Regions from separate parts of the Homo sapiens genome. Here region 2 is linked to region 1. The links are contacts of gene promoters, found by promoter capture Hi-C in blood cells and fetal thymus (Javierre and others, 2016). All regions are on one chromosome and are shown on one strand. The core of a region is centred on a gene start or on the middle of the fragment in contact, and the rest is flanking DNA. Distances in the headings are between cores, read along the strand shown.

Region 1 (4,119 bases), core at 1,144-3,643:
AAAAAGTAGATTATTTTGTTTCCTCTGGGAAAAACTCAAATAGACACAGGATAATGGTCTAATGAACAAGAATGTCAGGATAGCTAACAAGTACTTTGAATAAGATATAAAACAGAATAGTGTGTTTGAATTTTATATTTTGATTACTCTTATCCATCCTTCCATTTTATAAAAATATGGCTGATTCGTAAAAATAATTAAGCAGTATTAGGAAGTATATTTGCTCAATGAAGAAGACATAGTACCCTTGGGCTGTTATTTACAGAAATGACATCATTCATCTTTCTAATCCATTCTAAGTTGCTTATGCGTTGGTCCTCAATGCTGTTTGCTACCTACATTTATTTATCCAGAGTGAAATAGTAACTATCAACTGAGCCACACTATCTTCTTCAAAAATTCCACTTTATTCATTTTTTGGTCAATATTTCACCTATTTTTGAAGTTTTACTATTTGCAAATACATTGTTTTCTTTGTATAAAATACATCTAATGTCTATACACTAGTAATATTACTTGTTCTCAGCTTCAGGAAACACTTTACAGCTGTAAGTTGAACAAACACTACGTTGTTAAACATGCCATTGTTGTGGTGTTAAATACATCAATAGAAAGGAGAAGATGGATCTGTTGCATCTGCTGCCACTGCTCTATAAATTTATTTTTATTTCAAAAGTTCTTACCAACAATTTATTTAAAATAAACAATTCCTGAGATTTACATTGCACTATCCCAGTTTCAGTAATTTTTATTCTGAAGGTTTGCAAGGAATTGGCATTTTTCCCTTATATACTCAGAAGCTTTGCAAACACTTTAAAAGACTATATAAAACCTTTAAAATGAGAAGTACATCTATGTATTTTTTAAATAAAATATTAAGGATATTAAGCCATTGTAATGATGTAAACAAAAAGTCAAGCTTTTATTGGGTAGTTACAAAAGTTATAATTAGATTCTTTTTTGTTCCTTTTTTGCTTAAGAATTTTATGAGTTGCCTGAATAGGAAAAATTAAATTAACAGTTTTTTTTTCCTTTTAACCTGTTTCTGCTTTTGTGTCAATGTCAACCGGGATGCGAATGGGGCATTGTGGGAGACAGGAGAGGACAATACTGGGGAGAATTAGCGCATTGGCGGTAGCCTTTCAATTCCAGCGCTGAAGCAACAGACTGAGAGGAGGTGAACCTTTACCTTCTCCCAGGCACAGACAAGGCGAGGTGAGGCAGAGATGGATTGCAGAACCGCATTAAGCAACCGCGGGGTGGAGGAGAGTGCAGGGTGTCTCCAAACCCTGGGAGGGCTATCTTCTCCTTTCAGAGCACATTTCTGCCCAGGTCTTTTTATTCTCAGTGCAGCTCGCTCCCTGGTGGCTTAAATTACGGTAAACGAAATAAGGTCCGTTAAAAACCACTTCTGAGAGGGGTGATTATTGGGGGTTTTGAAAGCACAGAGGTCTTATAGAGACCAAAAATATGTGCCTCGCTAAGATACAGAAAGGCTTGTAAGTGAATCTTCATAACTCTGGGTACGTGCATGTATATGCACATATACGTATGCATGTCTCGTTTCTATACCTTATATAAGTTTTCTGCCCAAAACTTTCCTCGTCCGTGCGTTCCCTACCACGGCGCATCTAATCTGTCTGCCCTATTTGTGGCTGCACAGCTCATTCTTGCAACCGGCTGGGGAGCTGTTGCTTCTGCCAACGCCGCCGTCAGCCAGAGCGCTGAAGAAAAGCTGAAGGCCAGCAGGCAACGAAAGAGTAAAGAAAACGCCCTCCTCCTGCCCATCTCCTCCACCACAGCCTCCCCAGTCCTCCCAGGTGACTCCCAAACAGTAGAAAGTTGGCTCAGAGATAGGGCAGAAGAACCGGGGGGCTGGGCGGCTGAGGCCGGGAGGTGGGAGAGGCGGGTCCTGCAGCCCCGAGAGCCCCCCGCGGCTGCAGCGGCAGCTGTCACCTCCTGGCCTCGCCCCACAGCACACCTGAGCCTCCTGGGCAGCCCCGAGCCCACAGCTCCCAGCAGAGGCGCTAACTGCCCTCCTCAAGCACAGGTCGCCGCGTCCCCAACTCCCTGTCCTCACCCCGGCCCGCCCGTCTCCTCCTCCGCCCTCTCCCGACTGCAGCGGGGGCAGCGCTTTGGCGCTCCCAAGGACTCCCCGCCACTCTCCCCACAAAGCAGCGGCGGTGGCGGCGGCTGCTGCTGGATCTTCACACTGCAGCCAGCAGCCCAGGACGCCCCCGGCCGGACGATGGGTACCCGCGCCTGAGCATCCCCCGGGCAGGCGCCAGGCGCGAAGGCAGGGGGCGGGAGGAAAGGGGCGGGGGAATTCCTGATTCCCTGGTGGACCCTGGAAGTTGTCCTTAAATAAATATATCGCTGGCCCGCGGTTGAGCAGCCACCTCGTCAGAGCAGCATGTGGACTGGCTCGCCGGGTCCCCTCCGTGCTCTGTGCTGTCGCCGCCGCCGCCTCTGTCAGAGCAGCAGCTGTCGGCAGCAGGAGCCCCGCACGGGGCGCGGAGCAGGGACGCGCTGCCACCGCCTCCCCCTGCGTCCTGCTGGCCGCGTCTTCTCGGGAGGTGGTAGTCGCTGTTGCCGCTGAGAAACCCGCCCGCTTTCCACGGCTGGTCGCCTGGTGAGGAGTTGAGACTCTGCGCCTCCGCCCGGACCCACATGGCTTGTTACCTGGTCATCAGTTCGAGACATCTCAGCAATGGGCACTACCGGGGCATTAAAGGAGTCTTCAGGGGACCCCTGTGCAAGAACGGATCTCCCTCTCCGGTAATGTGCGCGCGCACACACATACATACACAAACGTTCCAACTCAACACAAACAAAAAGATATTGAGAGATAGTATCCTGATACAATGAGTAGGTGGTGGACATCTAAAACGTATACCTTATCCATAGGTATGGAGATACATCGTGTCCGTTTATACAATTTATTGACAGACTGTGACACAGAGAGGGGTGTGTATTTACATGTGTATTTTCAATTCAGTCAGTAGGATCTATAGTGCTACGGATGTAAATACTTACTGAATGCAGTCAACTGCAGGGCTCAGAAGGTAGCTCCTCTGTGCTATGTCAACTTACGAATCTGCTGATTTGAGCAGTGTAGAAAGTTTGAGTGGCACGTTATAATGTGCTTTTGTAAAGTCATCAGTTGAGATTAGTTTAATAATGCTACTGTTACTTTGTGAGAAAAACTCAAAGATTTTCCCTCAAATCATTGGCAAAAGGAAAGTTATAGGTAGTGAAAACTTGATTATATCTAATGCTCAACTATGCACATTCTTTAAGGGGAAGTAAGAGAATTCTTTATGGAAATCTGAGTTGGATAATTTATTGTATAATATACAAATATATTAACATGCAATTAACGTGATTGCTTTTTAACTTAGTAAACTATTCAATTTAGTTACTATTCAGTTTATTCACATTCTTTTTATAAAATAATTTCATCCAGATTATATGAGTTAAATACATTATTAATTCATTTCTTGGTACATGCTATTATGTTTTAAGGCTCCAAATATGTTTCAAGAAAATGTGTGTGAATGTGTATGTGTGTGTAATTTATATATATATATAATAAATATATATATAATAAATATATATATAATAAATATATATATATATTAGTTTTGGACTACTAGTGACTAAGTATCCAAACTTAAAGACCAACTTTTGAGGTTTCATATAAAAAACAGTATTTAAGTCTGTATGATATCAAGAGGGAAAACTGAAATTGCCCAACTTTAATTTTTTTATGTTTGATATTTTCCATCATGGTTTAATGCTTCTTTAGCATGAATTATTCAAAACTGCAACATATTATAAAAGCCTTTGATTATTAATAAATGCTATATGTAATTTACATGAGAAATCTAAGATCAGAAAGTACAGGTGCCCAGAGATATCACTAGGATTCCTCATGACAAACTATTCCTTCACATGCTTTTATGTACTATAAAAAGTGGGTTGTTGCAACTGCTCCCCCCAACAACTGTATACAGTACTGAGTCAGAACTGTTAGATGGAAAATACTGTTTGTATAAGTACTTAACAATTAAACTCACAGGGTTAGCAGGCACTTGCAGAGTTCTAGTTTAATAAAGC
Region 2 (4,309 bases), core at 621-3,120, 1.0 Mb after region 1:
ATTTATTTTTGTCTATGGCCAGATCACCCTGAATGTGCCTGATCTCATTTTTTTAATGTAAATCATTTTTTACATGATTCATAATGTAAAGCTATATACACAGGCATAGTCAGAGAACCCTCAATTCTCTCCCTACATCTTCTACATTCTGACATTCCTACGCATCACTTCCTGAGCTTCTTTATGCAAAAACAAGCAAACATGCATATATCAATTGTCCTGTTTAATTAAAAAAGGTAACATTTTATATATCATCTTGCATACCTTGCTGTTTTGACTTATCACTATATCCTGAAGTTTATGCCACATCGGCATATAAATGGCATCCTCATTTCTTGTTACTGCTGCCTCACTTTCAATTTTGAATGTAAATTCATAACAGATGTGTCTAAGTTGTCATCAATATTTTTCAATTGACAAAAAACATGGTATGTTTTTATTATGTGCAACATGATATTTTGAAGAGTATACACATTGTGGAATAGTTAAATCTAGCTAATTAATAACCCTTTGCATATATTGTTGCATATTTGTGCAGATGACCACCAGCATAAATAACTAGAGATAGATTTGCTTGTCAAAGGATGTGCATATGCAGATTTGTTAGATATTTGCAAATTTACTACCATAAATTTGTACTATTTTGCAGTACCATTTGCAATGAGTGAAAATTACATACTTTGTTAAGATTTCCTTAGTTTTAGTTTTTATTTAATGTACCTTTTTCTCCAAGGTCCCATCAAGATACATGTTTAACTGTCATGTCCTCTTAAGTTCCTATTGGCTGTTAGCAATTTGTTTCTTACTTTTCCTTGTTTCTGATGACATTGACAGTTTTGCAGAATACTAGCCATATTTTCCCTTGACTGAGATTCATCTGGTGTTTTTTTCATGGTTAGATTGAGATTATAGGTTTTTAGGAAAGAAGACCATAAAAGTATATATGCCAATTTCATAAAATATAACATCATTTAAAGGCAACATTATCAGTATGACTTATCATTGTTGATGTCAACCTTGTTCACTTGGCTAAAGTAATGTTTACCAGATTTTTCCACTATAAGTTTACCTTCCTGCTTCTTTATCATTCTTATTGGAAAGAAGTTGCTATGGAAAGCCCGCACTTAAGGAGTAGGGAGTTAATACTTCATCTCTTTGAGGGCAAAGTACATAAACATTATGTCTTTATCCTATACTTTGAATTATAATCCAATACCACTTCATATCTTGTTGCTCAAATTGTTCCACTTTTGGCCATTGGGAGCTCTTTCATTTGGTTCCTGTGTCCCTTCTAACACACCCCCATTATTGTGTTTTTTTGCATGCTTTCTTACTTTCTGGTTCCACAATATGCTCTAGACTCACCTTGTACATTCTTGGCTCCAGTCATTTTTCCAAGAAACCCAGGCTGTTATTTTTATGGAAAATCATATTAGAAACCAAGCTCTGGATGCTAGGCATGTTCACTGCTATGAGAGTATCACTTTTTCTAGGTCCTCTCAGATGAAAAAGTAAGGAAATATACATGTATACTACTCTGTTTACATTTACATATCTATAAATATTTTACAAGTATCTATCTGTATCTGTCTTAAGCTAAAGAGGAGTTCACATGAATGTCCTCAACTCAAATCCATTACCACATAGATAAATTCTAGCTTTCTGCATCTGCTTATCTGTTTTCTACTATACCAACAGTGAGAAACCTGGCTCCCTTGATCCATTTATGTAATTTTTCAATTTGTATACATGAAGTGTTAACCTATATTTCTGTGGGATTATGACTATTATCAACTAGAGTACAGTGCTTATATAGAGCTCTTTTTGCCTTTAGGCTCACAGACTTCATTTATTTCCAAAATTCCTTATGTCAGTACTCTTTTCCTCCACACCTTTCAATGAGGTTGTTTCATGTCCTTGTAATACAGTTAGATTCTTGCACCATACTTTGCTTTCCATTCTGGGATCTCCTACTATCTTAAATGAACTCATTTTAACTTGCATATATTAAGATTCACTTTTTGTGCTGTAAAGTTCTATGCATTTTTTTTTTTTTTTGAGATGGAGTTTCCCTCTGCTGCCCAGGCTGGAGTGAAGTGGTGTGATCTCGGCTCACTGCAACCTCCACCTCCCGGGTTCAAGCGATTCTCCTGCCTCAGCCTCCTAAGCAGCTGGGATTACAGGCACCCTCCAACACACCTGGCTAATATTTGTAGTTTTTAGTAGAGATGTGGTTTCACCATGTTGGCCAGACTGGTCTCAAACTCCTGACCTCAGGTGATCCACCTACCTCCACCTCCCACAGTGCTGGGATTACAAGCATGAACCACCGTGGGCCTGACCAGCTCTACACATTTTAACAACTGCATAATGTCAGGTAAGCAACATTACAGTACTATACAGAATAGTTTCACCATCATAAAAAATCCTCTGTGCTTTTTCTATTCAACTCTCTCCTTTTCCCCAAGACCATCACCACTGATCTGTTTAGTGTAGTTTCACCATCATAAAAAATCCTCTGTGCTTTTTCTATTCAACTCTCTCCTTTTCCCCAGGACCATCACTACTGATCTGTTTAGTGTATTCATAGTTGTGCCTCTCCCAGAATGTCATATAAATTGAATCATACAGTATGTAATCTTTTCAGATTTTTATTTAGCAATATATACTTGAAGTCTCTCCATGTCTTTTCATGGTTTGATAGCCATTCACTTTTATTGCTGAATAATATTCCATTATGTGGATGCATCACAGATTGTTTCCCCTTCCCCTATTGAAGGAAATATTGGTTGCTTCTAGTTTTGGGTAATTATTAATATGAATTAAATTGCTGTAAGCATTTGCATGCAGTTTTGGAATGTGGAATACAGATATAAGTTTTTAAGTAAGTTGAATAAATATATAGGTGGACAATTGCTAAACTGCATGGTAACAGTATTGATAGGGACAGGAGGCAGAAAAGAGCGGGTCCTTGGCAAAACTCCACCCTCCAGCTGAAAAAGCCTGAAACTGCGGCCCAAAGTAAGAACTTACATCCCTGTTTTCCCACTGGAATGTTACCTTTTCCTAAATCACTCATGGCCCTGCCCTGCCCTGCCCTGCCCCACCCCACCCTATGCCTATAAAAACCCCAGACTCAGCTGGTAGACGGGACTATGGCTGGACATCAGAGAGAAGTAGCTTCACTTCAGAGGCACAACTTGTTGGCATAACTTCAAAGAAGAATCCATCTGGAGACAGCCGGACTTCAGGGGAAGTTTACCTACCAACTTCATCCCGTTTTCATCCCCCCTTCCCACTGAAAGCCTCTATCATCAGCTATAAAGTCCCTTGCATTTACCGTTGTTCTATTCATTAGTGTGACCTTATTTTTCATGGATGCTGGACAAGAGCTCAGGAATGATGAATACAGATACAAAATGTCACACTGGCCCTTTACTCTTGCTGGCAGAAAGAAGCTGCCTCACATGAAAAGGCAAAGGTCCACTGAGCTGTTAATGCTTAAGCCATCCGTGAATGGCAGAGCTAAATGAGCATGTAACACACCCTCTGGGGCTTTGGGAGTAGCAGGCACCCCCGCCTGGATGCTGCCACAGGGACTGCACAGAGTTCACTGCTGCTGGTGCCCAAAAATGGTCAGCCAGAGCCTGTACTCATTCACCTACTTATTCCCTCCCACAAGGGGATAAGCACAGTGAGCTGAGTAAATGGAGTTTGTTCCTGCCAGCGGTCAAAAGCACTTGCTCTGTTTCCTGCACTCATTTGCCCTCATGTTACCTCCAGCGAGTGGTAGACAGGGGAAAGCTAAGCAAGTGAGGCACTCCTGTTGCGAGTCCCATGACGGGGTAAAGAAAATATTCTGATTCACTATGTTTAACTTTATAAGAAACTGCTTCAGTTGTCTTCCAATGTGGCTGTATTATTTTGCATTCTCACTAGCAAGAATGAGAGGTCCAGTTGTTCCACATCCTCACCAGCAATCACTATCGTCTGTTCTTTGGCTTTTAGCCACTCTAATAGGTGTATAATGATATCTCATGGTTGTTTTAATTTGCATTTTTCTAATGAAAAAATGATGCTGAGCATGTTTTCATACGATTATTGGTCATTTCATGGGTGAGATGTCTGTTCAGGTCTTCTGACCACTTTTTAATTGGGCTGTTCTTTCTTCCAGTTGAGTTTTAAGAATTTTTAAAGTTTCTCTGATACAAGTTCTTTATCAGATATGTGATTTCCAATATTTTCTCCAAGTCTGTGGCTTCTCTTTTAATTCTCTTAACAGTGTTTTTTGTGGAGCAGAAGTTTTAAA

The links. Contacts are between HindIII fragments. The CHiCAGO score rates a contact against its expected background, and 5 or more counts as called.
Region 2: a contact is called between a fragment that was not itself captured here and the fragment with the promoter of ZNF804B in region 1, in 1 of 17 cell types (naive CD4 T cells). The highest score is 6.1, in naive CD4 T cells.

What each region holds. Positions count from the first base shown.
Region 1 is chr7:88,757,307-88,761,425 of GRCh38, forward strand. ZNF804B (zinc finger protein 804B) reads left to right here and starts at 2,394. Exons shown (of 4, transcript NM_181646.5): 1 at 2,394-2,778. The coding sequence starts at 2,671. RefSeq lists an enhancer at 2,540-3,084. The HindIII fragment of the contact is 11,667 bases long and covers 918-4,119 here.
Region 2 is chr7:89,776,876-89,781,184 of GRCh38, forward strand. No RefSeq gene overlaps it. Among named protein-coding and RNA genes, the nearest start is that of STEAP1, 380 kb to the right of the region's middle. The HindIII fragment of the contact is 5,196 bases long and covers 1-4,309 here.